Regions from separate parts of the Homo sapiens genome. Here all the other regions are linked to region 1. The links are contacts of gene promoters, found by promoter capture Hi-C in human tissues and cell types (Jung and others, 2019). All regions are on one chromosome and are shown on one strand. The core of a region is centred on a gene start or on the middle of the fragment in contact, and the rest is flanking DNA. Distances in the headings are between cores, read along the strand shown.

Region 1 (4,200 bases), core at 249-2,748:
TATACGACGCTAACATTCCAATAAAAATTCTGGCCTGTTGTTGGCATTCTATGCATATCCCGACATTTAGGATCATCTGAATGTTTTACTAAAATTTTTACTGTTGTCATTTCTCAGTTTTCTCAAATTGATGTTTCCAATACTTTAAACACTGGAGCACCACATATATTAGGAAGGCTTTATCTACGTTATAAACTATGGAAGTGAAAGACAGTTTTAAATGTAATCACATTTTATGAAAAATAAAATTATCCACACTTGCTACACTTTAGTTTTCTGGTTACTATAAACACTTGAAAGCCAAGTTGTAAAATTCTTCTGTAAACCTTTGGGAAATGAGCACTGGTGTGTCTAACCCCCTCTCAGACTGCAGGTGACCTTGTCAGCAATAGGAAGCCATGAGAACTCAAGTACTACAGATAGAGCCAGGTATGCTGTGGGGGCACCTCTCTGGAGGACACAGAGCTGCAATTTGCAAGCTGTGAGTGGCCCCTGCATTTGAATCCCACAGCTCTGTATCATAAATAGAAATGATGAGAAAAAACACAAGTCAGCTTAGCTATTAATTATAAAAGAAAGCTCTGTTAAAAGAACTCTTCTAGCCTTATCAAAAGTCTCCCAAAACTGGTTTTTCAGGACTAGGCTATGAATAAAGTTTGAAAATTGCCCCCATATACATTAATCACTCCTTAGGTTAGAATGCAGAATATACCATAGAGAAGTTGGCCAGATGCCCACAGATCCCTGTGAGGAACCATGTACCCTTATTCTGCTCCCACACCCTGCCTTTACTCCTTGGTACTTTCAAGTGAGAAATGGTGATTTTCTTATTTGGGGAAGATAGGGTGGAGACAAAAACCTCATAAATATAAACCTCTCTCTCTCTCATAGCTCAGCAACTTGCAATATTTTTAGCAGTAGAGAAAAAAATAAATATGACTTATTAACTATAAAGCAATATTTGAGTTCACTATTTCACTAAAAGCATCATTTATGAAAACAGAAAGATCCTTTAAAAAATGTTTGTATAGTCGCTTGAGAAAATAAACCAGCAGGTGCTGGTCCCTTCACTTAAAGAATTTATTATCCTTTGTGTGGCAGGATTCACCAGCTGACAGCTCCCACCCAGAAAATCAAATAGGTGCTCGTTTCTGTGATGCCCATAACGTGTAAAATTGCCAAGAAGTTCAATGCAATGTGACCTAAAAGTACAGCAAGGAAGAGCAGAGCTAACAGCCAGCTGGAGGCTGTCAAAATTTACAGGAAGAAAAGACAAAGATAATACAGTAAGTTCTAATTTTAATCATTTGTAAGGAACACAGAGAAAGCTGTGCACATACAGCAGATGTATTTCTGTTTGCAAGTATAATTCAACTTACCTCTATTGAGCAGAAAATCAGGACTTTTTGGCTAACCAGCCTGTAGTGATTCCCTGGGAGGATCTGGCTGAAAGAAATGGGAACCTAGAGTTTATTCAGTGGAGTCTCAACCTCTACCTGACTGTATTAGTGAACAGTTCAGAGGTTTCTTGCTCAGCGGCTGAGTCACTCAGGGAGGAGGTGTGTGGTATGCAACAGGGTGTCACCTTGTACAAATACCAGTTCAATTAAAGCATTCTCACTCATATACCTACTGTCTTTGTTTGAATTCTTTGTTTAACTTATGGCCTTATGCAAAAAAAAAAAAAACATATATATATATATGCTCCTGTGATCACCCTTTTAACTGATATCAACAGTATGCACAACCATATCACTGACAAGGTGGCATAGGACCCAACCTATTTTGTATTCTCTTTCAAAAAATAAAATTGAAAACTCAAGATAGAAGGAACCCCCATACACCCATAGTACCTGGAAGGCAGGGGCACAGACAAGCATGCAAGGAGTATATGGCTTAAAGGAATCTTCAAGACAAACAAATTCTCAGAAACCCAGGAACCCTAGGATTAGAAAACACAAAAGAAGTCTGTTCCACACATTCTACACCTAGACTATTTTGTAAAACTATCAGAGGGAAAATACACCTAGCATGTAAGAATTCTAATCTCTATCTTATTTATCCATGTATAAAAAAATGTGAAAAGGGGCCAGGCGTGGTGGCTCACATCTGTAATCCCAGGACTTTGGGCGGTGGAAGCAGGCGGATCACCTGAGGTCAGCAGTTCAAGATCAGCCTGGCCAACATGGTAAAACCTGATCTCTACTAAAAATATAAAAATTAGCTGGGCGTGATGGCACACACCTGTAACCCCAGCTATATTAAATAACTATAACACACCATGATAAAGTCATATACAGAAATTTTCAATGCCAGGCATCGCATAGTGGAGAGAAGGAAGAACCTGGAAGGTGATGTTGATGCAGAGTTTTAAAGTCTGAGTGGACAATGATTAGATGGTCAAGAAGAAGAAGAACCATTCATCCACTCTGGCAGGAGGAGGCAGGAGAATCACTTGAACCAGGGAAGTGGAGGTTACAGTGAGCCAAGATCACACCACTGCACTCTAGCCTAGGCAACAGAGTGAGACTGTCTCAGAAAAAAAAAAAAAATGTGAAAAGGATGGTTGAAACTTCTTTCAATGCTGAGGGCAGCAGTAGACCCAACATCAAAGGCTGCTTCTGGCCAGTTGCAGTGGCTTTCACTTGCACTTTGGGAGGCCAAGGTGGGAGGATCACTTGAGCCAAGAAGTTCGAGACAAACTGGGCAACACAGTAAGAGAAGATCTCATCTCTACTAAAAATAAAAAAATCAGCTGGGTGTGGTAGTGCATGTCTTTGGTCCCAGTTACTCAGGAGGCTGAGGCAAAGAGAGTCTCTTGAGCATGGGAGGACCAAGCCACAGTGAGCTGTGATCACACCACCGCATTCCAGTATGGGTGACAGAGTGAGACCCTATCTCAAAAAACAAAACAAACAGACAAAAAAAACAAAAAAAACCCAACAAAAAACAAAGGCTGCTTCCGCTGGGAGGAAGGAGTAACACTGAAGAGCCATTCTAGGCGGGGACTCCTGTTACAGGTTTTGAAACACACCTTCCCTAAGAGCCAAAGAGGCTTTAAAGAAGCTTAGCAAACATTGTTGAGAGAAGCCACGTCATCAGAACTTCCTGGGTGATCGTCATTCATATGTCACACCAGCAATGAACCAAATCCCCCCTGAACAACTGCTCCTGAAAACTACAATGCAGCTGAGTGACGCCCACTGAAATGACTGTAACAAGAAGCAGAAACCCAGACTGAAGAGCAAGGCAATTGCAGTATGTGGTCATTGTGACTGGGAGACCACTTCCTGTATGTTCCCTGATGTTCCCTTATTCTGGGCTGAGGAATTTGAAAATCTAAAATGGAAAATGTTCTTTCAAAGTAAAACATATATACGTGTCTACTCAGCTTTTTTATGGAATTTTATACATGCAAAATATTTTTAAAATATGCTTTAAGTTTCTGTGATGCCCAAAAATCTTGGTTTGAATATTAATATTACAAATGATAAAGCTGAAAAACAAAGACGTGACTTAACTCAAAAGATAAACTAGAAGCAATCTTCAGCCTTAGAACTTAGCCAAAAAGAAAGAAAACAGTTTAAGAGCTCCCTTGTAGGGATAAGTTGTAATTTACATTACAGAATGTTGAAATATATTACTTCATGAAACACAGAACCAGAAAGATAAGTTTTTATCTTATAATGAAGTAAAGTGCAGCTACTCAAGTTATGGATTTTGAGCTTCCAAGCAATTATTTCTGCATGCAATTAAGGGTTTCTCTTACTTTATACATCAGACCATCCACACTGCTAAGCCAAACCAGTGTTTTTTCATTTAGAATCAAATCTCTAGTATAAAAAGGGACTAATTCTAAACCATTGAGCAAAATTCAGACCTCTTCATGCTGAGCAGACATGACTGCCTAAAATTTAAAATCTCAAATGTGAAGAGGTTGAATCAAGAACGTTTTCGGGTGTGGAGGTAGCCAAATAGCCTGAGCATTAGTTTCACTCAGGTGTTTAACTGGGAAGACTTGGGCATGCTTGGAATAACTTGGCTTCACCACACCTATTCACTTTCAGTGTTGGAGTTCTTAAGATCTCTCTAGAACTGTAAGCTCAGAAGCTGAAATGCCAAATGGGTTTTATCTCAGGTACAAATGCCAATTGATTGGTGATGGCTTCCTGGAGGAATATGTTGAGGTTTGTAAGCAAG
Region 2 (4,393 bases), core at 908-3,407, 180 kb after region 1:
TAGCAATGAGCACCCTAGTACCCACTAAAATGAACAAGGGCACCTTGGAACAATGACCAATAGTAGAGCTGAGTAAAGAAATGTAAAAAATGAATGTCCTTCCTTGTATCAGGAGGCAAGGAATCTGTCAAAGGCTAATGGGATGCCAGAAGGTCACAGGAGCCAACTTGAATGGTCTCTCATTGTCCAAAGATTACATCATTTGGGATCAAAAAGAATGACTCAAATTACTAAAAACACAACATATATATACAAATGAAATCGTCAATGATAATGCTAGAAGAAAATCATCCCATGGCTTATCAGTAGAAGTGGCTAGGACATAACTTATTACCATAAAAAATAGATAAAGGGACACATAAAACATTTATTCTGTCTTTCTTGTATGTATTTTATTTTTCTGGTAAACAAATGATTGATAAAGAGCTCTCTTCATAGAAGAGTTTCTGTTAATAAATACAGAAAGAATGAAAGAATTAGAAAATCATCACATTTCAATTCCAAAATGGCAAAAGAGACCTAAGACTTGATTATTAATAAGTGCCAAAATTGGCCAGACACAGTGGCTTATGCATGTAATTCCAGACTTTTGGGAGCCTGAGGCAGGAGGATCATTCGAGTCCAGGAGTTCGAGATCAGCCTGGACAACATAGACCCCCATCTCTATCAAAAAACAAACAAACAAATAAAAAAAACATGTTTTTAAATTAGCCACGCATGGTGGCGTGGGCCTGTAGTCCCATCTACTCGGGAGGCTGAGATAGGAGAATTGCTTGAGCCCCTGAGTTCAAGGTTGCAGTGAGCTATTATCCTGCCACTGTACTCCAGCCTGAGTGATGGAGTGAGACCCTGTCTCAGAAGAAGGAGAAGGAGAAGGAGAAGAAGAGAAAATAAAATAAAAGAATAAGTGTCAAAACTGTTAGATGAAATATGGGTGGGGGATTTACAGTGGATGGATCAGGCTGATCACACATGAACTCACTGATCAGTCCTGGCATTGGAAAAATGAGACCATCGGCCAGTATGAGCCTCCTGATGTAAGACAATAGGATCATCACCATCTCTGAAATACTTTTCACCCCAAAAATGAGACTGTATTTATTCACATATTTAGCCAAGTCCCTACAGGAATGTGTAAAATAAAACATAAAGCCACTTCCAGGATGTGGGAAATTCTTTTAAAAAAAAAATTTTGAACAAGTAAATGACATAAAAATAAGAGGGATCTATATCACAATAAATTACAAGAGACTTAGCAACCAACATTGTTTGGCTCCTGATCCAAACACTTGAGAAAATTAGGAGGATTTGATTATGTTCTAGGTACAAGGTGACATTAAGAAATTATTGTTGACTTTAGGCCTGGCATGGTGGCCCACGCCCGTAATCCTAGCACTTTGGGAGGCTGAGGCAGGCGGATCACGAGGTCAGGATATCGAGACCATCCTGGCCAACATGGTGAAACCCCATCTCTACTAAAATCCACAAAAAAAAAAAAATTAGCCAGGCGTGGTGGCATGTGCCTGTAGTCCCAGCTACTTGGGAGGCTGAGGCAGAGGAATCACCTGAACCCAAGAGGCGGAGGTTGCAGTGAGCCTAAGCCAAGATGGTGCCACTGCACTCCAGTCTAGTGACAAAGCAAGTCTCAAAAAAAAAAAAAAGAGAGAGATAGAAAGAAAGAAAGAAAGAAAGAAAGAAAGAAAGAAAGAAAGAAGAAAGAAAGAAATTATTGTTGATTTTATGTGATATAGTGATATTATTGTTATCTTAAAATGTTAGAGATCCATTCTAAAATATTTATGGATGAAATGATATGACGTCTGGGATTTGCTTTATTATATACTTGTTAAAGCCAGAAGGGAACTGATGAAACTAGATTGGCAAAATGCTGATAGTAGTTGAATCTGGGGATTTACAATATCAATATTCCTGCTTTTGTGTATGTATGAAGAAGAAAAGGAAAAGGAGAAGAAAATGCAGATGACTTCTGGTGCTTCTTCTTCCTTCTTCCTGTTTCTTCATCACGAATGGTATGTGACTACAGGGCTTACAGTGTAGCCACCATCAAGTGACAATAAGGCAAACATGAGCATGGGAATAAAAATAATGTAAGAATAGTAGACAAATACAAAGGAAAATGCTGAGCTGTTACACCAATTCCTCACCTACTGTGGATACCTTTTTGTGTGAGACACCTCAATCTCTACATAAGTAAGCCACTGTGAGTGGAATTTTCTGTTCACTGCAGGCTCACATTGTGGTTACTAATACAGTTTGACTCAATTACCACCAGTGATTCGGGGCTCTTCACGTCCCCTGGGTAAACTTAGCTAGAATGACTGGCACTAACAAAAAATAGGGTTGCTGCTTCACAATAAAGTCAAATCCCCAAATCAACAGGCTCAAAAGAAGTTTGTATTCTCTTTTGCCATGCCAGAGAGAAAATATTGGAAGGTCATATGGAAGATTTTGCCTTTTGTCAGTTATTTCTGGGTAGTTTATTAGAGCTTGGAACTAATGAGGCCATGGATACCTTTTTGTCTATTTTAGTGGCCAAATCAATGGTTTTGCTGTAGTTTGGTATCACACCAAACTTCTAAACTATAGTTTAAATCAATGGTTTTGCTGTAGTTTGGTATCACACCAAACTTTTAAAGTATAGTTTAAATCAATGGTTTTGCTGTAGTTTGGTCACACACCACTGATTAGGGCACAGAGATTTTGAGTGTTCATGCTATAATCCCAGGGTAAACATATATTTGGATCACTGACGGTATTAAAACCACATTCTAACTGCATGGTTCAGTGAATCAATTTCATTATCTTCATATATGTTAAACAGAGCTTGTTGACTGAATCTGTCCTTCAAAACATAATCTGGTAGAAAATTTCATTTATTTCACAAAATTTGAATTGGCACTTTCTTGCTACTTATCTCAATACACTAGAAGAACAGAAATAGTTCCTCTATTAGGTTCACAAGATGACTAACAAAAAGGCATCATATTAAACAAACCCTCTATTACCCAATTTTCTACCTAGAGGGGTGACGTGGGAAATGATTTGGCCTTTAATGATTTCTTTCACGTCCAAAGTTTGCTCTTGTTTTCATGATTCTGTTGATCTCTGGATTCCACAAGTATGCAAATGACTTACCACTGTGCAAACAACTATGCATTAGTCAGAACGTTCATAAAGTTTTGCATAGGAACCTGGAGGAGGTTCATCATAAAAGGACAGATATAATTTAAAATTTGGTAGTAAGGAGTGAGTAAAGGAAGTGAATTTATATGAACTGAAATAAAGAAGGTTTAAGAAGGATTAAGTCTTGTTTTTGAGTATTAAAAAGGTTTGTGTACAAATGATACAAAACAATTATCCTCAGTCCCATGTGGCAGATAGAAATTACAGCAGAGAGAATTTAAACCAGACATTAGAAGAAATCTAAGGACTGTAAAACATGGATCTATATTTCCACATCATTATAGAGTTAGTTTTTTAAAATCAATATGGAGTTATTAGTTATTTTCAAATAACTCAAACTAAAAACAGGATGATTTAACTCAATTTCCTAAAACAAATATTCACATGAACTCTCTGCAGGAATAGAGTAATAAGTGAGACACATCTCTGCCCTCTGAGAGTTACAGTGTTGGAAGGATGGTGAGTAGAATTAGCCAAATACAAAAATAACTGCAAAATAAGGTGTAACTGCCAGGCGAGGTGGCTCACACCTATAATCCCAGCACTTTGGGAGGCTGAGGCAGGAGGATCACTTGAGGCCAGGAGTTCAAGACCAGCCTGGCCAATATGGTGAAACCCTGTCTCTACTAAAATATACAAATTAGCCAGACGTGGTGGCTCGTGCCTGTAATCCCAGCCACCCAGGTGGCTGAGGCAGGAGAATCGCTTGAACCCAGGAGGTGGAAGTTGCAGTGAGCTGACATTGAGCCACTGCACTCCAGCCTGGGCAACAGAGTGAGATTCTGTCCCCAAAAAATAAAAATAAAAATAAAAAATAAAATATAAAGTGTAACTGACAAATACCAAAGCAAAATCCTATATTTCTCCAAGTCATGCCACTGTAATGATAATGTATCAGGCTATGTTATTGGTAGCAAAAACTGTGATACAGATGTGTCAGCCCTTAGAGCTATGTTTGCTCCTCAAAGTGAGGCTGCACCTTGGCTGAATGACCAGAAGATGGATTCACTACAGACAATAGAAAGAGGCTGCCATTTGGCTATAGTGTGCAGAAATATCATCTAGCACAGTTGGTAACCAAGGCCGAGCATTAGTGATTTTCTTATCTCACCTTTGAGGAAGTGTATAAGGAGAAGGGAGGTTTCAAGTTAGCAAAGCTTGCAAAAGGCAGCAAATGCATTTAGCTAAT
Region 3 (4,695 bases), core at 1,277-3,776, 190 kb before region 1:
CTGATCCAACTTCATTTATCTGAAAATGCTATAAAAATGGAAGACCAGACTGAGCATGCATATGCAAATACATATACACAAGTACAGGACACACCCGATGACAGCAAATCTGCATTTCAAAAGCCTAGTAAATTTAAATACACTGTTTCTTGAAATACAACCTTACAACTATGACAGTAGAAAAAAATTAAACTCACAAATTGACAAGAGCTCCAAAACTCAAATATATTAAACTTATTACTATATAGAAGTTTAAAGCTCCCAAATATTATAAATAATTGAGAACATCAACAAATCAAACCCTTATGTTTCCGAAGTAAATTAAGTGTCACGAGAACTTGGCCACATTTTCATCTACCATTTCTCACATTAGTCACATAAGAAATTTGGGATATTAATGAAAAAGAAGAAAACATTCCCAAGTTTATCTAAGACTCTCCCTTAAAAATTGCTAAAGCCTAACCTTACCCATGTTCCAAAGAATTTCTAAAACCACCATTTCACTCTCCACAGTTCACCAGATTTCCAAAAAAGGCTCTGCCTTCTAAGACAATTCAGGTAATATCCTGTAGCTTAGCTGTTCAGTTACATCACTCCTTTACTAAAAATTATTCAAAGGTTTTTCAACCATTTTAAGATAAAATCCAGAATCTTTAACTGCCCTGAAGACGCTGCACACATGTCTAGTTTCTAGTTTCATTTAGAGTCATTTCCCTCCATTACACCCCAACCACAACAGCCTGCCGTTTCCTCACATTATGTCCCACTGCAGGGCCTTTCCACATGCTATTGCTATCCTTCCTCTCCAATGTCTCTGAGACTGAAAGACTCTTCTTTGAGTTATGGCTTATCCTAGTGACAGAAAAGGCCTGGGACACTCTTCCTCACCTCCTCCTCCCGTTGGATGGACGAACAGATGGACACACGGACACACACACACACACACAGAGTTACTGGCTTAACTCCCACTGACTCTCCGGTCCCAGCTGATGCCTCACGTCTTTGGGAAATCATTTTCTGATCATACCCCTGGGTCAGGCTGCCATTCGCATCATTATGCTTCTTTTATGGGACAGGAAGAACAAAGAACTGCTATCTTGTCATCTGTTTTTTGCATCAGAATGCATGTTCCCAAGGCCAGGCACTGAGCTCATCTTGCTTGCCACTGCACCCTGTATTTAGCACTGACTGTACCTAATAAGTACTCAACACATTTCATGTATTGTAATCATCTGATCAAGCCCCAGTGTTTCAGAAAAGAGAGTCTAGAAAGTCTTGCTTTAAACCTGACTATTCTGTAGAGGTCCCAAGAAACAGGTACCAACACCTACCAAAAAAAAAAAAAGAATTTCACTATGATAGAGTCAAATTTAATCAACCGTCACAGTAGTATGAAAGCAGTAGACAACTACTTTGGGAGAATCTCTATTGTTTTATTTTTTCCTTGGTGGAGATAGGTAACAAAATAGCATGTCAATAATAAATTCACCAGAACAACCATTATTGTTTATTTTGAAAAACACTTTTCGAATCATGGTAGAAATGCAAAGTGAAACCAAAGGAAAAAAAAACACATGGAAACACAAGTACAAATTAGCAAAAGAAAAAAGGATTACTTAAGGAAATTTGGCAAACACATATCAGGTTGTAGGGTATAATGGACTGAAACTGCAAATTTCATAGAAGCACAATCCCTTATTATCTGTTACTGTACTAAATCATTGCCAATACTGAAGTAAATGCACTGGGGCTATTCTGAACATAAGAGCAAAGCAACATAAAGATGTGATGAAATCCCACAGCTATGACAATGCATTTTCCATTTTCAGCACACAGGAATGATAGCATGTATCAGGAGACCCTGTCTCTGCACAAAAATTCCAATATGATTCCAGATTGTTTTTCCAGTGAGAAAAGAAATTCTTTACAAAGCTTACCCAAAATGAACCTCACAGACTAAGTTTTAATTTTGTGTTCCAAGTTTGACAGAGCATCTCGAGACTAGAAATATGAGCTAGTGGAGATAACATCTTGGGCCAAGCAAGGAGAGACTGGACAGGTTCCAGAAGACAGACATTTGATAAGCTTAATGTCTCAGTTCAATCTGTGTGGATTTTAACAAAAGAAAGGGTCACTCGCAGAACTGTGGATTAGTCTACAACTTTCTTCTTCATCAGCTAAATTTGGACATTAACACTCCTTTATAACAACTAAAATAAGATTGGGAACTGGTACCATATGAAGATAAAAGAAAAACTCAATGAATGGGGTAATTTCTATTCACATTTCCTTAGTATCTAATCCCAGAGGAAATGACAGATGGTCATAGCGAAACATGAGCCAAGGATATAATTGTGTAGGCCTCCACTATTTGTGAAAAGTACACCTACTCTGCTCAAATGTGACCTGTCCTGATTCAATAGTTATAGACATTCAAGTACCTTAAGCCAAGATAAGCTTTTATTAACTGGCCCCAAATTAACTGAGCCACATTTTGGGCGTTTCAAATTACTTAGATAAGCCTTTGATCATTATTTGGTTATTTAACATCCCAGCCTCATGCGTGAATTTACCAAAGACCCTAGATTAGCCTTATTTCAATTTAGGATATCAAGTGAGCTAATCCTACCCATGAAAGTTCTATGCAGTTTTGTTATTTTTATTCTAAAGGGGTAGAGGGGGGTTAGAAAGATGGGCGAGTTAGAAATGGAATACACACAGATCTAATAAAAAATAAAATAAAAACAACCAACTAAAGAGATTGTTGTAGATTTTCTATGTTGAATAATAAACTACACTTACAAAATTTTTCAGTGTAAGATCCCTAACAAATACCTGTATTTGTAGGTAGAGAAAACAGATACCCACCCTCTGCCAAAAACACACTTAGTTTTCTATGAAGTATAAGTAGCCAGGCAAAGAGGATTCCCTGTATTTTATGTTCAATTTCTAAATGAAAATCTGTACATTAGGAATGTTTCTGTATATGTAGTACTCCACATTTCTGAAGTAATTTCACATCCAATATTTCCAGAAATCTTTCTAAAATAGCCCTGTGAAATCTGCTAAATGTCCCCACTTACTAGGCAAGGCCCTAGAAATAAGGACAACCATCTCAATCACAGTGGAGCAGGGATGAGGCATAACTATTAAGGTGAAAACTTCCACCATATTCACTCCTTCAACAACTAGCATACAACACCTACAGTGCGATGGGAGTTATTCCAGGCACAGAAAGGGTCACAGCAATGAACAAAACAGACTGAAACCCCCACGCTCAGAACTAACACTTTAATGAACACCACTCTGTTTTGGTTTTTTGAGGGTTTTTGTTTTTTTTTTTTGGCTTGGCTAGTAGGATGCCATTTACAACACCAAATGTTCAATGAAAATTGTTTTGTTTTTTTTTTTGCCCAACTTAAAAAATTTAAACATACTCAAATTAGTCAATCACACAAAAAAAATTCAGTACTTAAAACATGCTGAAAAATTTATTAAGCACTGGCAATTCAAAAAACAATTTTAGGTATAGACCTCCATCTTCAGATGCTTAATCTATTTGGAAAAAGTCACATACATTAACAACTAAATAAAAAGAAGTTCACAAAACAGGGTGCCTCGAAATAGAAAGCAAACATCGTTAGGACCATCTTCAAAAGAGGAAAACCAACCAAGATACTGAGCTTTGTTGAAGACTGCATACTCAAATAAGTGGCCAGTGTTCTGGGGGAAAAAAGAGAAAGATTATTCTATTCTAGGCTTTATTAGTTAACTTTATACCAACAGACTGCAGATTTAGAGATGCCAGGAGATTTTAATTTCCAGCAATGTTATTTCACTTTTAACATTACTTTCTGTAAATTATCCAAAAAAGCCATTTACACTATTCACATATAAGGGGGAGACACCTAATATTTGAGCCATTATCTCATCTAATTTACAAATATCTATTTCCTTATAACAACACTACAAAATAAATACAAATGTAAAAGAGGCTGAGAAAACTTAAGTAACTTGACTGTGCTGACTACATGATACACAAGACTTTATAAATTGTAAAATCTGAATATTAAAAGATCAGCTTGGAAAAGAGGATAGTAAGTTTTGCAATTTATAATAAAAAGTTTCTTAGGGCCAAGCACAGTGGCTCATGCCTATAATCCCAGCACAGGGAGGCCAGGTGGGCAGATTGCTTGAGCCCAGGAGTTCAATATCAGCCTGGGCAACATGGCAAAATCCTGACCCTGCAAAAAATTTGCCAGGTATGGTGGCATACATCTGCAGTCCCAGCTACTTGGGAAGCTAAGGTGGGAGGGTCACCTGAGCCCAGGGAGGTCAAGGCTGCAGTGAGCCGTGGTTGCGTCACTGCACTCCAGCCTAGGCAATAGAGTAAGACCCTGTCTTTAAAAAAAAAAGTTTCTTAGATCCAAGTCAATTAATATTCCCTATAAGAATTAGGGGTATTAGATACATATTAGTCATCTGTAGGAATATACTATATGCACTAAAAATAACTATCTTATTATATCTTTTAAAAAATATTTAACCATTTGCAAAATTGTGGTTGTGAAGACAACGTATTTTTTAGCAATATTTTAAAAACAGTGATAATGCAGGTGCTGTCTCCCTACAAAATTAAATCTTATAAAAATCCCTTTCCTTCATTTTCTTCAGAAAAAAAAACTTTCTGCAGAA
Region 4 (4,348 bases), core at 72-2,571, 220 kb before region 1:
TAATACAATGTGTTAAAGGAGAACGAAACTTCTATAAAAAGACTTAGGGACTAGCTAAGCAGTTAGCTATCTGTTCCTATTCAATAAGTGGCTAAAACTATATTTAAAAAGTTAGAAAATAATCTTATAGCCATTAAATTTACCAAAACAACCCTAGAAATTAAGTTACATGCTTCTTAAAAAAAAAAAAAAAAAAGAACCCTAGAAGAATCAAAACCAACATTTACTGAATCTTTTGCTACCATATCAAAATGGAACAAATTAATAAAATTCAAACTTCAGATGTCTTGAAATATCCACTCATCACATTAACATGACCACATTAATCTCTGGAAAGTTTTAACTTTCATGAGTACGCCACCAAATGTTTGCAGATAAAAAAGACCAAGAGAATGCTTCAATTTTTTTGCCTTGCTAAGTTCATCTTCTGCCACCAAGAGGCAGCAGAGAGTCACATACAGATCTCAATGTTGAGATGTGTGAAATAACACATGTGAAATAAGCCAGCCACAAGACCACAACTCTATGAGACACTTTTTCCTTGATCAATACACATCCCCCAAAAACTAAAGTACCTATGTCAGGTCATTTAAACTGAAAAAAAAAGCATATATACGAGTACTAAGCCATAACTAATTCAAGGACAAAACTAATTCAAGTACTCGATTCCACTCTTCCTAGAGCACAGCATGCGTCACCCACTTGCTGAAATCCCTCCAACTCCTCAATTCCTCCCCTGCTCCCTCTTCTGAAAGGCCAAGCTCCTGAGCACAGCCCAGATGAGGGCTTCAAGGCCCAGGCTCTTTATACTTCTCCAGCCTGGCCTCTCAGCCTGCTCCCCGACCACAGGGGTGAACTCTCTCATACCTGTGAGCAGGCTGGTCCCTCCATGTGGACACCCAACCTCACTTTGGAGAAGGAACAAATGAACAAGGGAACAAACATCTATTGTGTTTACACTAAATACCAGACACTCTGTGAGCTGTTGGGGATACCACAGTGTATTAGGCAGATACAGTCCAGAGTCTCATTGAGTTTATAGTCAAGATTTATGGTCTAGGTTTATAGTCTAGACCAGTGCTTCTCAATCCTTCCCCACCCATTGTTGATCCTAAAGAGAAAATCTAAAATAAATTTAATTAAACTTAAAATTAAATTTTTTCCCAAATAAAATAAATATTAAAGATTAACATTTTGATAGGGGTAAACCATGGAAGATCATAAATCATTGTAATATCTAAAATTTTTTTCACCCCTCCAACTTACAAGATATTTTTATCTTTATTGATATATACCGCAAAACACTAAAGTGCACATATCAGAGCATTCAATCTTGTGGTCATTTTCTTTCAAGCAAAACCAGAAAATAATGATATACTTGAATGCTAATCCAAAAGGCATTCAAGTCAAAATCAAACTCAGCTCTTCTTATTCCCCTTTCATACACTACTCCTTTGACATTACTAACACCTATTAAATGTTGCCATGTCCAGCAATTTTTGCTCCCTTGGGGTGGAAAAGGCAGAAGATTAAACAAGCACAATAAGTATACTTAGATAATATGTATAATAAGAGAGCATAAAAAATTGTAGAGAGTGCTATGGTAGAAAGCACAAAAGAATATTTTACTCATGTGGGTCTTACTAATACTTTAAGAATTGGCACAATTATCCCCACCATAGAGAAGCTTTTCTATGGACTTCCCAGCTGGAAGTATCTACCTCTCACACATTACTTTCTGTGTGTAGTTCTAGAGTAAGGATGCTCAAATATTGCCACTGACTGTTAGATTCCTTGGCAATTTTCCTCATTATCTTCTTGATGCCTATTTTTAACAATCATACGTCTCGTATTCCCAAATTCCTATTAAAGTTCCCAGCCTCACAGAGCAGGTACTTTATATATCAGCAAATATTATGTGTATGATTTGGCAGACAGTGTGTAGTAAGAAGGGAGGAATTAGAAGGATTCATCTCTACATAATCTTAGTGGCCATATCTAGATCTTTTGACTATTACAAAAACTGGTGTAAAAAAGACAGCCTCTATCAGTACTAGACTATTTTCACTATACATATTTCCAATACATATATTTTTAAGCAGCAGGGAGGCACAGGAACATAATTATATGCTATTGAGAAAATTAATTGAGCTTCTATATTTCTTTTTAAAATCTCTCTCCAACTATTTACTATAATAGTTTTCATACATATAGAAATGTTAAAAAATAGTATCATAAACACCTGTTTTTCCACCTGGCTATACTGGTTGTTTCCATTTTGCCATATTTAATTCATCTCCACATGTACTTTTGTTTGCTTTGCTAAACAAGATAAAACTTCAGACATCTTGACACTTTAAATGCATATTGATCTCCTGAGAAAATTCTATGGAATCACAATATTGTAATCACATGTAAACAAATTAACAATATCATATGATAATCTGCATACAAAATTTTTCAGACATCCCAAGAATATCTTTCACAAGCTTTTTCCTCTAAACCACGATCCAATCAAGGTCCATACGTTACATTTGGCTATGCCTCTAATCTGTGTTAGTCTTTAAAACCAATCTTTACTCATATTTAAGCAACAAGTCAGTTTCACAAAGCTTTAATCCTGAAATATGCTCTTAAAAATAAGGTCTTCCAAGTGTAAATATTTAGGACACTATTCCCCTTGGAACAAAGCTGTGATCTCCAACTTGTGTCAGACCATCTGGAAATGAGGTACATTTCCTGTCAAACAATGTGGAACGTTTTAATAACCACATATTCTTTAAAGTTCAGGGAACCAAAAGTAATGTTCTAGTTCTATCTTCACAAGAAATCAGCAGTTTAATCTTCAAGGGCTGAGATGCAGCAGGAAACTGGAAGAATAGACCAAGTAAAGAATTCAAATGAGCTTGCTCACATTAAAGAGGCAGCAAGACTCATCACTCTATGAACAAAGACTCAGGAATCTTTAGGACTAAAGGAGACACTCATTGTCCACCAAACAGCTAGATCTAGGCATCCAGGCAACACAGGCTCCAGGGGAGGTCCTCATGATAATAAGGACTACATCATGCCTCCAGTAACCCCTGCCATACCGTAGAATTATAAAAAAGTTGGTAAAGATTCTACAAGTTGAGTCATTTTGATATTTAGCAAGTTATTCCAGTTATGCTTCTTTTAATTCTATGAATCTCAGAAATATCCCAGAAAGTTTTATGAACCATCTCTTTAAATCTAGGCAGTGTAGGAACTACAAAAGCAGTAAATATTAATATACATTTCTAGTTTATTCTCAATTATTTTAAAATGAATCAACAGTTTACAATTATTTTCTATCTATATTATTTTGATAATTTAGAAAAATATTTAATAGATTAGCTTCAAAGTTACCATTCTTATTTCAGTTTTTTGCTCAATATTCTATAGTAACAAATGCAGGCTAGGACATCTGAATCATATGTTAATAAAAGTTTAAAAACAAAAGGGGAGAAGACAACCTTTATTTAGCACATCCACTCCAGGCTACATGCAATGTAACATTCATTATTTCATTTATTCCTTATAATATATTTAGGTGGAGAAAATGTGTACCAGATGGTTTGGTGTGAAATTATACCTAAGTTTCCTAAGAGACAGATATCATCTTGTCCACATTTTAGTTAGGGAAACCGAACCTTAGACAGTTGAGAAACACAGGATCTACTGGACTTCAGAGCCTCTGCTCTCAACCATTAAGCTAATTAGTCAGAAGTCATATCCAGAAGATTGCCTTTGTATTCCATTTTTCTTGTATTGTGAAAACTAGACATTTTAGGCAAAATAAAACTACCATAAAGGGACCTAAACTGTGATATGTCTCCACTTTCCTGTGAAGAGTATCCCAGCACAGGATTCACAGAAACCTAATCCTTTTCAAACGGTGTTTGATGGAAGTGAATACCACTTTTCTGAGGTGCAACAAACAGCTAAGCGGAGAAAAATGATCCCATTGACAATATCAATCAAGATGCAGAGCTAGCATCTGCTTGGCAACTTGACTACGATGTTCTAAAACACTTTAAGTAAAAAAAAAAAAAAAAAAAAAAAAAAGCTTTAGAGAAATAACTCTAGGTGCCCTCTCAATTTTAATAAGATGTTATGACTTCCACTAAGCACATGGAATACATTGTCTTTCTGATCTATGAGCTTTAATATGTTAGTCATGATGACATTTTTTAGCCACCACTCCTTTAAACTTGAAATCTCAAGGTAGTAAGAGAAATTACAAATACAAAATTTTAAATATTTCCAAATGATCTCTTAATTAGCATCAGCATGAATGATACCAGTATAAAGGAAGAAAGGGTAAAAA
Region 5 (4,138 bases), core at 1,018-3,517, 240 kb after region 1:
ATTACTTTGTCAAATATTAAAATAGCCACTCCAACTTTTTTTGGGACACTGGAGAGTGTGCTTGAGATACATCTTTTTCTGTCCTTTTAGCATGTATCCTTTCATTTAAAATTATGATATTACAGTTATTAAAGGAAGACTTTCCTTCAGTATTTCTTGTAATATTGGTCTCTTGACAGTGAATTATGTCAGCTTTCATGGATCTAAAAACATCTTTATTTTTGTCTTCATTCTTACAGGATACTTTTAGAATCCTTTATGTGAATTATATCAGCTTTCATGGATCTAAAAACATCTTTATTTTTGTCTTCATTCTTAAAAGATACATTCTTAAAGGTTACATGATTCCAGGTTACTTTCCCCCACCTCTAACCCCCATCCCTCCACTCTACCACCTCCCCCTCCCCACCCCCCAGCCCTTTTCAACACAAAGAATGGAAACTATCAATTTTATTGTTCCTTTAAGCATATCTCTTCTCTGGCTGCTTTAAAGATTTTCTCTTTATGCTTTGCTTTTAGCAATATGACCATGCTGTGCCTAGGTATGCTTTTCTTTGGATTTTCCTGCTTAAAGTTCCCTGAGTTTCTTGAATCTCTCAGTTGATTTCTTTCTTCACTTTTGGGAAATTGTCAGTAATTATCTTGTCATATATTGCTTTTGTTCCATTCTTTTTTCTCTCTTTCTGGGATTCCAATTATATGAATATGAGACCATCTGACTTTGTCCCACATGTCTCGTTCTCTGTTTGGTTCATCCCATTTTTGTTTCCGTGATTGAATTCTGTTATTTATTTATTTATTTATTTTTGGCCTGTTTGCAAGTCTGTGAAACCTGTTTTTCTGTAACTTACTCTGCTTTTAAAATCATATGAGAAGTTCTTAATTTCAGATGTTTATTTTTCAGTTTCAGAATGTCCACTTGGTTCTTTTTTTATAAATTATGTTGAAAATTGCCAATTGCATTATTTTACACATATTGTTAATCTCTGCATCTCAGGTACTTGCCTCCTAACGTTAATATCTGGGTTTTCTGTGAGTCTGACTAATTTTCTGGTTTTCTCTTGATTATGTGTCTGCCACATATTTTGCTTCTTTTGATGTCCCTTAATGTGTTTACTTAGTGTCCCCGAACTAGACTAACACTGTGTATGAATGAACATGATTTTCTTTCAGATCATGTGTTTTCTCCTAGAGAGGTGTGCTCTTTGCTGTGTCAGACAGATAGAATGAGGAGTTTGATTATCTCAATCCAGTGAGGGATTACATAGACCGCTCCCTCCCTCTACTAGGATTCTGTCTTCTTACGGAAGTTTTCTCTTCCCTTTTGACCCAGCCTCTTTTTTTTTTTTTTTTTTTTTTTTTTTGAGATGGAGTCTTGCTCTGTAGCCCAGGCTGGAGTGCAGTGGCGCGATCTTGGCTCTTGGCTCGTCACAACCTCTGCCTTCCAGGTTCAAGCGATTCTCCTGCCTCCGCCTCCCTAGTTGCTGGGATTGCAGGCGTGCACCACCATACCCAGCTAATTTTTTGCATTTTTAGTAGAGACGGGGTTTCACCATGTTGGCCAAGCTGGTCTCGAACTCCTGACCTCAAGTAATCTGCCCGCCTCAGCTTCCCAAAGTGCTGGTATTACAGGTGTGAGCCACCGCGCCCAGCCTTGACCCAGCCTCTCTATCATCCTTCAGTGTTCCAGTTACATTTCTGAGGAGATATACCACTGGGAAAGCTGTCTATGTATCTAGAGCTTTTCTAGATTCCAGTCTGTCATTTCAGCCCACATGGGCATCTAAAGCACTACTAGTCTCTTGTTTCCTTTATTAGAGTTCCTCTGCTTAAGCCAAGCTCAGTCCTTACTCATGCCCAAGCTCTGCAGTTACCCCCATGGAAGAACAAGCCAGTGGTCTCAGCTGCCTTGGAAGTGCTCTTCCACCTCTGGATTTTTTGTTCTTTTAGTCCTCATTGCTTCCACAGCTTTCTTACGTTGGTTAGTCTGGTCTTTGAAGCAGGCGCATTGGCCTGCCTCCTATCTAATCACTTACTTTAGGGAAGTGGAAGTCAGAAGTTTATCTTTATAAAAAGAAAAGGCAGATAATTTTAGGAGTGCTTATTTTTATAAGCATAGTGATGTTTTGAATAGTTTTATCTGTGTTGCATACTCATAGCTATAAAGCATTTTTTTCCTTTCTGATATGGGCCTGTTTATCAAAATATGCCCCAGATCTGGGGCGAGCAAACAAAGACCCACAGACCAATGAGGCCCAATTCTTGTTTTTATGTAGCCTGTGAACTAAAAGTGGTTTTTACATTTTTAAAAGGTTGAAAAGAAAATAAAAAAGGAAGAGAATGTTTTGTGAGCATTATGTGAAATTTGGAAGTTTTATTGTAATATATGCACACTCCTCTCTTTATGTGCTGCCGATGGCTGCTTTCGTGCTGTAACCATTGAGTAGTTGCAACAGAGATCTTGTGACTCACAAAGTGTAAAATATTTGCTGTGTGGCCCTTTGCAGAAAAAATTTCCCTATTCCTGCTTTACATCACAGGCTCAGGAATTTTTTATTTCTTATTACTAAGAGAAATTAAGCAAAAGATTGAAACCATTTTATTCCAGAAGTTCTGTAAATTTGGATTTATTAAAATCTTAGCATTTTAGAGGATTTACAAGGAACCTCAGTCTCCTTCATCTCTTTATTTTGCAAATGAAGCAGATTTGAGTGAAAGAGGTTTTAAAATTATGACTACATTTTTGGTATAAAGTATACTCAGTAATAAGCTGATAGAGAAACTATTGATCTATATCACTGAATAATTTGCAAAATTGATTTGTTCTTATATTGCAGAAGTATTTGATTTTTCTTAAGCAGTGTAGCTCTTAAGAAAATATTTTTGGAATTTTTAAAGTAAATATTTTAAGATAAATATTTAAGGCATGTTAATAGCCTTTTCCTTTTATTGTCAACCACAATTCTTTCAAATCTGATGGATATGAAGTTATTTTTGTGAGAAGACTGAAAGTCTTACAGGACCAATTCCAGACATTCTTCATTAAGCTTCGATTGATTTAGAATATAAAGCCCTAAATCATCAGAAATTCCAAGTTAAATTGTTAATGTGTAAGACTGGTTTTTAGAGTTTCTCTTTTATATTCCCATCCTCAGATATTGTGAAAGGTTTAAGCTTAGTTCTCAAATATAGAGATATAATGGTGTGTTATATTACTAGCAAATGGCATTTTTAAATTTTCCAATGTTGAATACAAATTTTGTTTATATAATTTTCAACTTATTACTGGCTCTTTTAGAAAACTTCTACCTCTTCCTCTGCAAACCAAATCAACAACAACAACAAAAAACACAGTAAAAGTAATTTATAATTAATTTGGGAATAGCTAGTTCTTGGATGGCCTGTACTTAAGAATTGATGGGTTCAGATTCATAAGAATTGTTACAACCAATTAAATGCCATCATGCATAGAAAGAAGTATTTTAGAAATGTACGTAAAGTCATTTGAACTTTAAAGAAGTTCCATTAGATAAAACAGACACAAACATTGGTCTCTAATTGGGAAAATTTGAGTCAGTTATAACTTGTCTTTAGGAAATCTATCTGAATTTGGATTTATATATTCTACTTCTCTGAAAATTGGTTTGGAATAAATTTTGATGCTTTTATAAGTTATATAGAAGGGGCTAACCTCTTAGTAGTTATGTATTCCTGTTGCTCAAATACCTGATTTCACTCAGGTAATCTTTAATATAAAGGAAAGTTGGTTTCCTAAATAGTATGAAGAATACGTATTGTGTTTTATTTATTTATTTGTTCATCTGATATTTATTGACCATCCCTGATGCTTCACATTGATGCAGGTGCTGAAAGTACACAGTTGAAATAGACATTCATCATGCCCTCACAATGCTAGTAGTTGAGTAGATTCTATAAGCAGGTATATGTATTTATGTTTAGCATTTGGCACTGTTAATCTTTCTCTTTCTCTTTACTTTTATGGCATACTATCTTGTGGAAATCTCATCCACATACATAGTTTCCATGACCTCCTTTGTACTAAAGTCTGTGCAAAATAATCCCAAGGATAACTCCTTAGTGGGCCTTTCTGGCTAGAGATGCTTTAAATGCACTCATG
Region 6 (4,332 bases), core at 1,261-3,760, 150 kb before region 1:
ACATTCTTCTAAACTTTTTTCAAAGTTTTCTACAAGGCTACAGTAACCAAAACAGCATGGTACTGGTACAAAAACAGAGATATAGATCAATGGAACAGAACAGAGCCCTCAGAAATAACGCCGCATGTCTACAACTATCTGATCTTTGACAAACCTGAGAAAAACAAGCAATGGGGAAAGGATTCCCTATTTAATAAATGATGCTGGGAAAACTGGCTAGCCATATATAGAAAGCTGAAACTGGATCCCTTCCTTACACCTTATACAAAAATTAATTCAAGATGGATTAAAGACTTACATGTTAGACCTAAAACCATAAAAACCCTAGAAGAAAACTTAGGCAATACCATTCAGGACATAGGCATGGGCAAGGACTTCATGTCTAAAACACCAAAAGCAATGGCAACAAAAGCCAAAATTGACAAATGGGATCTAATTAAATTTAAGAGCTTCTACACAGCAAAAGAAACTACCATCAGAGTGAACAGGCAACCTACAAAATGGGAGAAAATTTTCGCAACCTACTCATCTGACAAAGGGCTAATATCCAGAATCTACAATGAACTCAAACCAATTTACAAGAAAAAACAAACAACCCCATCAAAAGGTGGGCGAAGGACATGAACAGACACTTCTCAAAAGAAGACATTTATGCAGCCAAAAAACACATGAAAAAATGCTCATCATCACTGGCCATCAGAGAAATGCAAATCAAAACCACAATGAGATACCATCTCACACCAGTTAGAATGGCAATCATTAAAAAGTCAGGAAACAACAGGTCCTGGAGAGGATGTGGAGAAATAGGAACACTTTTACACTGTTGGTGGGACTGTAAACTAGTTCAACCATTGTGGAAGTCAGTGTTGCGATTCCTCAGGGATCTAGAACTGGAAGTACCATTTGACCCAGCCATCCCATTACTGGGTATATACCCAAAGGACTATAAATCATGCTGCTATAAAGACACATGCACACGTATGTTTATTGCGGCATTATTCACAATAGCAAAGACTTGGAACCAACCCAAATGTCCAACAATGATAGACTGGATTAAGAAAATGTGGCACATATACACCATGGAATACTATGCAGCCATAAAAAATGATGAGTTCATGTCCTTTGTAAGGACTTGGATGAAATTGGAAATCATCATTCTCAGTAAACTATCGCAAGAACAAAAAACCAAACACCGCATATTCTCACTCATAGATGGGAATTGAACAATGAGAACACATGGACACAGGAAGGGGAACATCACACTCTGGGGACTGTTGTGGGGTGGGGGTAGGGGGGAGGGATAGCATTGGGAGATATACCTAATGCTAGATGATGAGTTAGTGGGTGCAGTGCACCAGCATGGCACATGTATACATATGTAACTAACCTGCACATTGTGCACATGTACCCTAAAACTTAAAGTATAATAATAATAATAAAAAAAGAAACATCTTTCCATGGTAACAAATGTACTTCTAAAGCATTAGTTTTAATGGATCTGTGATGAAGAAATACAATTTATTTAATCTTGTGCTTAGGACACACAGGAGACACATACCTTAATCTTCCATAAGGATAAAATCTCTGCAGTTCTACTGAAAACTCATAGTCCTTATATAAGCTTTCTAAAACTCATCTTCCTGATATTGAAAATAGTGATATAATTCTTGTTATAATTTATTGAGTATTGGATACAAATGCTTTCATTCAATGTATTAATAATAAGTATTGCCTTCCCATTTTACCAATGAAAAAATTAAAACTATATATTCGTTAACTAGCAAGTCAAGGTAAGAATTATAAGGAAAGTATGTTGAACACTGTATCCTGTATAATAAACCATCCTGTTATTAGTAAAAAAAAAAAAAAAAAAAAAAAAAAAGAATGAGTTAGGGAAAATTCCCTTCTTATGTAATTTTTGGGGAAAATTTCAGCAGGATTGGTACCATTTCTTCTTTATTTGCTTAATAGAATTTGGTTGTGAATCTATCTGGTTCTGGGCTTCTTTTTTGTTGGAAGATTTTTTTATTACTAATTCAATCTCACTACTCATTATTGATCTGTATAGAATTTGTATTTCTTCCTGGTTCAGTCTTGGGAGGTTGTATGTTTCCAGGAATTTATCCATTTTCTCTAGATTTGCTGGGTTATGAGCATATAGTTGTGCATAGTAGTCACTGATAATATTTTGTATTTCTGGGGTATTCGTTGTAATGTCTCTTTTTTCATTTCTGATTATGTTAATCTGGATCTTCTCTCTTCTTGGTTAGTCTAGCTAGTGGTATATCAATTTTGTTTATCTTTTCAAAGAACCAACTTTTGTATTTTTTTATATTTGTATTTTTTTGTCTCAATGTCATTTAATTCTGCTCTGTTCTTTGTTATTTCTTTTCTTCAGCTAGCTTTAGGTTTGGTTTGTTTTTGGTTTTATAATTCCTTGAAGTTCAACATTAGGTTGTTAATTTGTAATCTTTCTATTTTTATGTAGACATTTGACACTATAAACTTGTATCTTAGTACTGCTCTTGCTGTATCCTAGAGGTATTGATATGTTGTGTGTCATTCATTTCAAAAATTTTTAAATTTCTGTCTTAATTTCATCATGGACCCAAAGTTCCTTCAGGAGTATGTTGTTTAATTTTCATGTATTCGTATAGTTTCCAGAGTTCCTCTTGGTATTGATTTCTAGTTTTATTCTGCTGTCGTTTGGGAAGATACTTGATATGATTTTAATTTTTTTCAATTTATGGAGACTTTTGTGGCTTAATATATGGTCTGTCTTTGAGAATGTTCCATGTGCCAATGAGAAGAATGTATATTCTACAATTGTTGGGGAAAACGTTCTGTATATATCTATTAGGTCAATTTGGTCAAAAGTCTAATTTAAGTAGAGTGTTTCTTTGTTGATTTTCTGTCTCAATGATCTGTCTAGTGCTGTCAGTAAGGTATTGAAGTCCCCCACTATTATTGCACCTTATTCTTTAGGTCTAGTAATATTTGTTTTATGAATCTGGGTGCTATGGTGTTTGAAGCATACATATTTAGGATTATTTTATTCTCTTATTGAATATATCCTTTATAATTTTATAATGCCTTTCTTTTTTGTTTGTTTGTTTTTTACTGTTTTGAATTGAAATCTGTTTTATCTGTATAAGTATAGCTACTCCTGCTCAGTTTTGGTTTCCATATGTGTTGAATATATTTTTCCACCCCTCTACTTTCAATGTATCTATATTTTTAACCAATAAGATGAGTTTCTTGTAAGTGGTATATAGTTAGATCATGTTTTTAAATTCATTCTGCCAATATATATCTTTTAAGTGGAGCACTTAATCCATTTGCATTCAATGTTAATATTGATAGATAAGGTTTTATTCCTGTCATATTGTTCATTGTTATCTAGTTATCTGGTAAATTCTATTTTTTTTTCTCTGTTTGCTCAGTGGTTTGGTGGAGTTCTGTCATAGTGCCATTTGATTCCCCTATCTTCCTCCTGTGATTTGTAATTGTTGTATAAGACCTGAGAGTGTTTACTTTCGTGTATTTTTATAATGGCAAATATCACCTTTTTGTTTCAATATATTGGACTCCTTTAGCATTTCCTGTAGGTCCACTCTAGTGGTTATGAATTCTCTCAGTGTTTGCTTATCTGGGAATGACCTTATTTCCCCTTCATTTATGAAGCTTCTTTTAGCTGGATATAAAATTCATGACTGATAGTTTTGTTTTTGTTTTTTTTTCTTTTTTCTTTTAGCACTTTGAAAACAGCATACCATTCTCTTCTGGTATGGAAGGTTTCTAATGAGAAATCTGCTGTAGTTTGATGGGTTTCCTTTGTAGGTAACTAGACACTCGCAATTTTAGGATTTTTTTCTTCATATTGACTTAGACAGTCTGATTCCTATATGTCCTGGCAAAGTCTATTCTGCGATGTGTTTTGCTTGTGATCTTTGGGCATCCTATACCTGGATGTTTAAATCTCATGCTAGACTAGGGAAGTTTTCATCAATTGTTTCCTTAAGTAGTTTTTCTAAACTTTTTGCTTTTTTTTAATCCCTCAGGAATACCAAAGGATTGTAAGTTTTGTCACTTTATGTAGTCCCATACTTTTTGAAGGTTTTTTTTTTATTCTTTTAAATACTGTTTTATTTATTTTTCTTTGACTGGATTAATTCAAAAGACCTGTCTTCAAGTTCTGTGTCTCTTTCTCCTGCCTGGTCTAGTCTACTGTCGAAGCTTTTAGAAGTATTTTGTAATTACTTCAACGAATTTTTCTTTTCCAGGAGTTTTGTTTGTTTTTTAAGATATCTATCCCTTTGGTAAATTTCTTGT

What was found. Contacts are between HindIII fragments. The study calls those that stand out against the background at their distance.
Region 2: a fragment that was not itself captured here is called in contact with the fragment with the promoter of SCEL in region 1 in 2 of the 25 tissues and cell types used here (liver and thymus).
Region 3: a contact is called between a fragment that was not itself captured here and the fragment with the promoter of SCEL in region 1, in 2 of the 25 tissues and cell types used here (dorsolateral prefrontal cortex and lymphoblastoid cells).
Region 4: a fragment that was not itself captured here is called in contact with the fragment with the promoter of SCEL in region 1 in 6 of the 25 tissues and cell types used here (H1 embryonic stem cells, heart right ventricle, lymphoblastoid cells and 3 more).
Region 5: a fragment that was not itself captured here is called in contact with the fragment with the promoter of SCEL in region 1 in 3 of the 25 tissues and cell types used here (H1 embryonic stem cells, heart right ventricle and lymphoblastoid cells).
Region 6: a fragment that was not itself captured here is called in contact with the fragment with the promoter of SCEL in region 1 in 3 of the 25 tissues and cell types used here (dorsolateral prefrontal cortex, heart right ventricle and thymus).

The regions. Positions count from the first base shown.
Region 1 is chr13:77,533,004-77,537,203 of GRCh38, reverse strand. It overlaps SCEL (sciellin), which reads right to left and starts at 1,498. Exons shown (of 33, transcript NM_144777.3): 1 at 1,380-1,498. The HindIII fragment of the contact is 8,761 bases long and covers 1-4,200 here.
Region 2 is chr13:77,358,113-77,362,505 of GRCh38, reverse strand. No RefSeq gene overlaps it. Among named protein-coding and RNA genes, the nearest start is that of MYCBP2, 33 kb to the right of the region's middle. The HindIII fragment of the contact is 5,637 bases long and covers 1-4,393 here.
Region 3 is chr13:77,726,154-77,730,848 of GRCh38, reverse strand. All of the region lies in intron 2 of SLAIN1 (SLAIN motif family member 1), which reads right to left. Among named protein-coding and RNA genes, the nearest start is that of MIR3665, 30 kb to the right of the region's middle. The HindIII fragment of the contact is 4,515 bases long and covers 269-4,695 here.
Region 4 is chr13:77,748,137-77,752,484 of GRCh38, reverse strand. All of the region lies in intron 4 of SLAIN1 (SLAIN motif family member 1), which reads right to left. Among named protein-coding and RNA genes, the nearest start is that of MIR3665, 52 kb to the right of the region's middle. The HindIII fragment of the contact is 4,059 bases long and covers 1-3,350 here.
Region 5 is chr13:77,298,649-77,302,786 of GRCh38, reverse strand. The region is part of intron 1 of MYCBP2 (MYC binding protein 2); the gene reads left to right. Among named protein-coding and RNA genes, the nearest start is that of MYCBP2, 26 kb to the left of the region's middle. The HindIII fragment of the contact is 4,931 bases long and covers 1-4,138 here.
Region 6 is chr13:77,680,321-77,684,652 of GRCh38, reverse strand. No RefSeq gene overlaps it. Among named protein-coding and RNA genes, the nearest start is that of SLAIN1, 15 kb to the left of the region's middle. The HindIII fragment of the contact is 4,030 bases long and covers 496-4,332 here.